2 separate regions of the Homo sapiens genome follow, and region 1 is linked to region 2. The links are contacts of gene promoters, found by promoter capture Hi-C in human tissues and cell types (Jung and others, 2019). All regions are on one chromosome and are shown on one strand. Each heading gives the region's core, a stretch centred on a gene start or on the middle of the fragment in contact. The rest is flanking DNA. Distances are from core to core; before and after follow the strand shown.

Region 1 (4,125 bases), core at 175-2,674, 190 kb before region 2:
CTTTCAAAGCTTTTACTACATCTTGATATGATCATATTTAATGAACTATTTTAATAGATTATCTAGGCTGGACGTGGTGGCTCATGCCTGTAATCTCAACACTTTAGGAGGCCGAGGTGGGTGGATCACTTGAGGTCAGGAGTTCGAGACCAGCCTGGCCAACATGGTGAAACCCTGTCTCTACTGAAAATACAAAAATTAGCCAGGCGTGGTGGCACATGCCTATAGTCCCAGCTACTCGGGGGACTGAGGCAGGAGAATCACTTGAACCCGGGAGATGGAGGTTGCAGTGAGTTGAGATCGCCCCACTGCACTCTAGCCTGGGCGACAGGGCAAGACTCCATCTCAAAAAAAAAAAAAGATTACCTAATATTCAACTCTTGTTTCATTCTTGCGATAAATCCTGCCTTAAAAAAATAATCCTAGGGCTAGGCTGGTGGCTCACGCCTGTAATCCCAGCACCTTGGGAGGCCAATGCAGGTGGATCACCTGAGGTGGGGAGTTCAAGACCAGCCTGGCTGGCCAACATGGTGAAACACCATCTCTACTGAAAATACAAAAATTAGCCAGGCATGGAGGCACACACCTAATAGTCCCAGCTACTCGGGAGGCTGAGGCAAGAGAATCACTTGAAACCAGGAGGCGGAGGTTGCAGTGAGTTGAGATTGCCCCACTGTACTCTAGCCTGGGTGACAGAGCAAGACTCCGTCTCAAAAAAAAAAAAGGATTGCCTAATAATTCAACTCTTGTTTCATTCTTGCAATAAATCCTGCCTTAAAAAAAAATCCTAGGCTGTGCTGGTGGCTCATGCTTGTAATCCCAGCACTTTGGGAGGCTGAGGCAGGTGGATCACCTGAGATGGGGAGTTCGAGACCAGCCTGGCCAACATGGTGAAACCCTGTCTCTACTAAAAATACAAAAATTAGGTGTGGTGGCGGGTGCCTGTAATCCCAGCTACTCAAGAGGCCGAGGCAGGAAAATTGCTTGAACCTGGGAGGCGGAGGTTGCAGTGAGCTGAGATTGTGCCACTGCGCTCCAGCCTGGGTGACAGAGTGAGACTCTCTCTCTCAAAAAAAAAAATAAGAATTATCTTAGCTTGCTAATTTTCTCTTTTTATTTTTAAAAATCTTTTTTCTGGAAAACTTTAAACATCTACAAACATAGACAGAATACACAGTAGTCTGATGAATCCCCATATAGCCCATCATTCAGCTCCAAATTGTCATCTGTTGTCCAGTTTTGCTCTAGCTCCATCCTTTCAACGTCCACTATCCTCTGTAATTTTGAGGTAAATCTCAGACATCATATTATTTCATCCATAAATATTTTAGTATGTATTTTTGAAAGATAAAAACTCTTAAAAAGACACTATCCCATTTCACACCTAAAAAAATACCGTCCGTGTTGTATTTCCATCTTGTTGTATATGTGCGTGTGTATGTGCGTGTGCGTGTGTGTGTGTGTGCCCACACAATCTATATGAATCAGAATCCAAAATAAGTTTCCTGTGACGGTAGATTGATGGTCTGTTAAGTCTCTCTGAATCTGTAGGCTCTGCGTCTGCCTTTTTTCTCCTTTACTGTTTATTTGCTGAAGAAACCAGGTCATTTATCCTTCACCTTGTGCAGTTTCCCCCAGTCTGGATTTGGCTGATTGCATCCCTGTAAAGTCACTTAATGTGTCCTTGTCATCTGTATTCTCTGTAAGTTGATATTAGTGTATTCTTTTAATATGCTGCTAGGTTCATCTTGCTGATATTTTATTTAGGATTTATGGGATATTGCAGGATGAAATTAGTTTTGGTTTTGTGTGTGTGTTTTGTCTTAGGTTTTAGTATTAGAGTCATACTAAATGATTCATAGGCCTTCTATTTTTATATGTTCTGGAGTGATTTGTATAATTTGGAAAGTAGTTAAATATCTGCCACTAAGTATCAGATAGTTATTACAGGGAATCTAGATACCATTTTCAGGAACAGATAATTTCAGGCTTATCTTATTGAAACTCTGATGTGAAACCTGATAAGGGTAGCACACACTGATTGATTGTATGTAAAAATCCAAATTATAGCAGTCAGACCATTTAAAACAAACGATTGATTGTATGTAAAAATCCAAAAACAGCAGTCAGACCATTTAAAGTCTAAAACGTGATGAATTTGGGTAGATTATTGCTTAAATATTGCCCTAGGCCTGTTTCTTCAGCTCCCTTGCCACTAACCTCATTCAGGCCTCTGTCATTTTGTCTCTTCTCTTGGTCTCCCTGCCTCCAGTCATGTTCCCATTAAATTCCTTCTTTTTAAAATGCAGACATTGTGATATGCTCATCAAGTATGTATTGAGCAACAACTGTGGGCCATTTGCTTCATTAAGCACTGAGGGATACCTGTCTTTATTGACAGTACAGTCTAGTAGGAGCGAGAGAGAATAATAAAATAATCACTAATGAACATATAATTAAGACGGAGCAGAGTGTTCTGAAGGAAAGAAATCAAGGCTGTAGGAAAGACTAGAACAAAGCAACCTGATCTCAACTAGAGATTAAGGAAGTGTCTCTTGAAGTGATGTTTGAGACGAGAGCTAAAAAATGAGTATTAGATGAGGCAAAATGAGAAGGAACACAACACCGCAATCTCAGAGCATCACGGACAAAGGCCTTGTGGCAAGAGGGACTGTCCCATGTGGTGGAACTGAAAGAAAACAGGAAGGCCAGAGGGCAGAGGGCAGAGGGCAGGCAGCGGCACGGGAGGGGGGTTAGCAAGGCCAGGCCAGGCAAGCCATGGCCCAGGTTTTTCTTTGTGGCCTAAGGTCATTGGGAAGTTATCACAACGTTTTAATTAGAGTTAAAAAGCAAAAGAACTGTAAGTTCTTAAAAATGGGTCATTATTACATTTTTTAAAATATCTATTGTCATAATTGGTTTTCACTGGGAAAAAGTCATTGTTGAGATAAGTATGTGTTTCTGAAAACAGTTCATCTCTTTTTATGCCATATATTCTTGTGTTTAGTAATCTAAATTCTTACCATGTCGGTTGGCTCCTTGAAGATACGGTGCGTAGCGAGAACACTGCATTTTAATTAAGGAACTAGTTGGGAACTGAAAACCCTGCAATCACTTGATAATGATGCGGCGAAAGATGAAGAGAAATATTTATGTAAACAGATGACAAATGGAAAATAGTTCATCACAATGATCATCGGGGAAAGCATTTTGAGTAGCTTATCATTTGAACAGAATTTGTTTTTCTAACCTGTTTCTGTTTGTCTGCTTTTGCAGGAGAGTAGTTATCTTGATGGAATTAGAAGTTTTGAAGTCAGCTGAAGCAGTTGGAGTGAAGATTGGCAATCCAGTGCCCTATAATGAAGGTAAAATGCTTTGGCGTAGGTTGTAGCACTCAAATGAATACCTCTTTATATATTCGGAGTTCTACCTTTTGGATTCAGTTTGACTTGTTAGTGTTAATAAAATGATAGTGATTCTGAGGTCTAGGAACCAGGCTATTCTGTCAGGCTTTTTCAGTTCTAAAGAAATGATGTATGAAGAAAGGGCACAATTAGAAAGCAATGGACAAACGGGTTGGGTGCACGGTGGCTCACACCTGTAATCCCAGCACTTTGGGAGGCCAAAGCAGGTAGATCACTTGACGTCAGGAGTTCGAGACCAGTCTGGCCAGCATGGCAAAACTCCGTCTCTACTAAAAATACAAAAAGTAGCTAGGCATAGAGGCCTGCGCCTGTAATCCTAGCTACTCAGAAGGCTGAGGCAGGGAAATCGCTTGAACCCAGGAGACAGAGGTTTCAGTGAGCCGAGATCGTGCCACTGCACTCCAGCCTGGGCAACAGAGTGAGACTCTGTCTCAAAAAAAAGTAAGAAAGTAATGGACAAAGATTCAGTTATACTAGACTAAAAAAAAATCTAGGATATCACAGTAATATAGGATACTACAGGATATCTGTAATATTAATGAGAAACGTGTTTTCCTAAGACTTATGTACACTTTTGTTTTTAAAAAGTGTGAAGCATGCAGTCTATACTCCTGTGATAACACTCACTGCACTGGTAGCTTTTAGAATTATCTCTATTTACTGCTAAGCCATGAGTAAACTGTGTGAAGGTAGAGATCAT
Region 2 (3,830 bases), core at 1-2,500:
TTTGGGGCTCAGAGGCAATGGCAACATCACATTTGTCCTTGTGAGATGAGTTTGAGCGGTGGCTGACACCTGCCCTGTACCAGGTACTAAATGTGGTTCTGGGGATACTATCACCAGTGAGCTGCCCTGGAAAGCTCATTGTCGGCAGAGGAAACAGGAGAAAACACGCAACAATACAGTATTCCAAACAGCAGTGGGTCACTGTCTTTACTTTAGGATTCATAAAGCCTGTTAATGAATGGGTGTGCTGGGGGCACTGTCATGTTCTTCAGCATGCTGCCTGGGCGACGAGGAGGCCCTTCCTAGGGTCTGACCTGGCTTCCCTTCCCAGGTGGGTGCAGGTGGCATGTCCACGTCTCTCCATTGACTGGGGCACAGCCTTCCCCAAGCCGCTGCTGACACCCTATGAGGTAACACCAAGCTCTGGGAGAGAGTGGGCTTTGGACGTGGTTCTCAAAGGTGAGGTCTGGAGTGGAGTGGGGTGGGTGGGCAGCACTTCGTTATGTTCGTAGATTCCGGAGTCTGTCTCGATTTCTCCAGCGGAGTCACTTCCTAGCTGTGTAGCCTTAGGCAAGGCCCTGAACCACACAGTTCCCTTCTGTGGCAGGGGACAGTGTGCCCTTCACAGGCCGTCGTGAGGACTGAATTCAGTAATCCAGGGGCAGAAAAACACTGGCAGATGTTATTGTCCCTCCCTCCCCTCCCCTAGGCGGCCGTGGCTCTGAGGGACATTTCCTGGCAGCAGCCCTACCCGATGGACTTCTACGCTGGCAGCTCCTTGGGGCCCTGGACGGTGAACCACGGCCAGGACCGCCGTCCCCACGCCCCGGGCCGGCCCGCGCGGGGGAAGGTAGGCGGGGGCTTCCAGGAGGGAGGAGAGACCGCGCCTGGGCACTGGCCGCCGCCCTGCGACCGCGACGGGAAACGCACAGGAGCGGAGCGGAGGGAAACGCAGGGTCGCAGGAGCGAGACCCTAACCAAAGTCTGCGACCTCAGGTGCAGGAGGGGTCCGCGCGTCCCCCTTCGGCCGTGGCTTGCGAGGACTGCAGCTGCAGGGACGAGAAGGTGGCGCCGCTGGCTCCTTGACGCGCTCCCGGGCCTCAGGTATCAGCCCCCGCTCTGGGTGCGCCCCGCCTTTTGCCGTTGTCATGGGAACGCCTTGGCGCTCCGAGGCCCGCCCTCGGGGCGGTGCTGACGTTCGGTTCCGCCCCGTGCATTGTGCTTCCGCTCGGGGAAAGACCGCTTCCGGTGCTTCCGTCGCTCCTTGCCGGGCATAATGGCCGCGCAGCGACCCCTGCGGGTCCTGTGCCTGGCGGGCTTCCGGCAGAGCGAGCGGGGCTTCCGTGAGAAGACCGGGGCGCTGAGGAAGGCGCTGCGGGGTCGCGCCGAGCTCGTGTGCCTCAGCGGCCCGCACCCGGTCCCCGACCCCCCGGGCCCCGAGGGCGCCAGATCAGACTTCGGTGAGACAAGCCCCGCTCCGGAAACGCACTCAGTTTCCTCCATCTTGTTTCGTCCCCCTCGACACCCTTCAGCATCCCCCACCCTGCGTCCACCCGCATTCCTCCCACCCAGTCCACACCCTTCATTTCTCGCGACCCATACCCTCTTTGCTCAAACTGCAGCCTGTCCTCCCAGGCTTCCGCCTTCACCGTCTTCCTCCGCTGTCTCCTGTTCAGGCCAATCCACTCATTTCCCCCCTCTCATTTCCCCCAGACTTTTGCCTCGATTCCCTTTTTCTCTCTGTCATCTCGAACCCTCCTGCCCTTTCTCATTTCTTTCCTTCCTGGAGCCTCCCATGCCCTAATCCCATCCTTTTTCCTCATATCGCTGTAGGGTCCTGCCCTCCGGAGGAGCAGCCTCGAGGCTGGTGGTTTTCAGAGCAGGAGGCCGACGTTTTCTCCGCATTGGAAGAGCCCGCCGTCTGCAGGGGCCTGGAGGAATCACTGGGGATGGTGGCACAGGCACTGAACAGGCTGGGGCCTTTTGACGGCCTTCTTGGTTTCAGCCAAGGGGCTGCGCTAGCAGCCCTTGTGTGTGCCCTGGGCCAGGCAGGCGATCCCCGCTTCCCCTTGCCACGGTTTATCCTCTTGGTGTCTGGTTTCTGTCCCCGGGGCATTGGGTTCAAGGAATCCATCCTGCAAAGGCCCTTGTCATTGCCTTCGCTCCATGTTTTTGGGGACACTGACAAAGTCATCCCCTCTCAGGAGAGTGTGCAACTGGCCAGCCAATTTCCCGGAGCCATCACCCTCACCCACTCTGGTGGCCACTTCATTCCAGCAGCTGCACCCCAGCGTCAGGCCTACCTCAAGTTCTTGGACCAGTTTGCAGAGTGAAAGATCAAGAAATGTCTCTGCTCCTACATCCAGCTCCTCTAGGGGCAGCCTCCGTCATCCATGCCCTCCCAGGACCCTCCACTCACTGCTGTGAGTGCGCCTCACCAGAACCAGTTAAGAGACAACTATCAATTCTTGAGACCCAAATTATAAGGGCCCTGCCCTGTACTGAAGAAAAGGGGAGCACAAGGCCTTAATGGACATTGACTTGTGAAAACGCAAACATGAATATGGTTGGAGAGCCCTGGATTAGGAGGGTGACATGGGGAAGGCAGAGGCTGGCACCATGGTGACTGCCACATAATAAAGTGGTGATTTGGATTTTGAGCATCTTTTTCCTGGTACACACAGAAAAACATTTTATAATGGAAGTCGGTTTCTTGGCCATCTACATAGTTTTCTGGGCAGCGCCAAGCAGGGAGGTGTCTCCAGTTGTGAGTCCTCGGACAGGCTGCTGCATGGGTGCACATACTCACGTTATTGGTGGAAGTTTTAAGTCCCAAACTGAAGGGAAGGAGGCCTAGGTGGCACAATCAGGGAGGAATATACATCTGAGAAGTTTTGGGAAGACATCACCTGGCAAGGCTGCCTGAACCACAGTAATTTAGTCTTCCTCTATCCAGATCACTGAGAGTTGTGTGCTGGTCTTCTCTCAAACCCTGGATGTGTTACCTGCTTCTCCCTAAGTGCTCTAACCTCGCTGAACTATGAGCCTGAAGGGTGGGTCGATGCCAGACCTTAGGTGGAGGCCAAAGACAGTACAGAATAAACAGCTTCTTCCTAAATTGACCCCATCTTGAGGGTTTCTGAGATTGATGCCATTCTTTAGTGACTACAGCCAAGGCCTAAGCAATCCAGCTGGTTTTCCCCTTGGGGCGTGTAGTTGTTCTTGGATACTTTGAGGATTGCTCACTCTTTTTTTTTTTTTTTTTGAGACAGGCTCACTCTGTCACCCAGGCTGGAGAGCAGTGGCCAAGATCCTGGCTCACTGCAACCTCAGCCTCCTGGGTTCAAGCAGTTCTGTCTCAGCCTCCTGAGTAGGTGGCGTTACAGGCATGCGCCACCACGCCTGGCTAATTTCTATATTTTTTTGTAGAGATAGGGTTTTGCCACGTTGCCCAGGCTGGTCTCAAAACTCTTTAGCTCAAACAATCCACCTGCCTCAGCCTCCCAAAGTGCTAGGATTATAGGCCTGAGCCACTGCACCTACCTAGGATTGCCCACTCTTTTTTTGTTTTCTTTACTTTTAAAGACAAGGTCTGACTCTATCACCCAGGCTGGAGTGCAGTGGCACAATCTTGACAGCCTCCACCTCCCGGGCTCAAGCCATCCATCCTCCCACCTCAGCCTCCCAAGCAGCTGGGGCTGCAGGCGCAAATCACCATGCCTGGCTAATTTTTGTATTTGTTGTAGAGAAGGGGTCTCACCATGTTGTGCGGATGGTCTCCAACTTGCGAGCTCAAGCAATCCACCTGTCCTGGCCTCCCAAAGTGCTGG

The links. Contacts are between HindIII fragments. The study calls those that stand out against the background at their distance.
Region 1: a contact is called between a fragment that was not itself captured here and the fragment with the promoter of OVCA2 in region 2, in 4 of the 25 tissues and cell types used here (IMR-90 fibroblasts, aorta, dorsolateral prefrontal cortex and 1 more).

The regions. Positions count from the first base shown.
Region 1 is chr17:1,849,825-1,853,949 of GRCh38, forward strand. RPA1 (replication protein A1) reads left to right here. Exons shown (of 17, transcript NM_002945.5): 5 at 3,277-3,365. Among named protein-coding and RNA genes, the nearest start is that of RPA1, 22 kb to the left of the region's middle. The HindIII fragment of the contact is 7,908 bases long and covers 1-4,125 here.
Region 2 is chr17:2,040,772-2,044,601 of GRCh38, forward strand. OVCA2 (OVCA2 serine hydrolase domain containing) reads left to right here and starts at 1,251. Exons shown (of 2, transcript NM_080822.3): 1 at 1,251-1,460; 2 at 1,834-2,654. The coding sequence starts at 1,277. The coding sequence ends at 2,333. It overlaps DPH1 (diphthamide biosynthesis 1), which reads left to right. Exons shown (of 13, transcript NM_001383.6): 10 at 332-410; 11 at 710-850; 12 at 997-1,104; 13 at 1,834-3,127. The coding sequence ends at 1,086. RefSeq lists silencers at 754-843, 1,354-1,553 and an enhancer at 1,104-1,163. The HindIII fragment of the contact is 24,727 bases long and covers 1-3,830 here.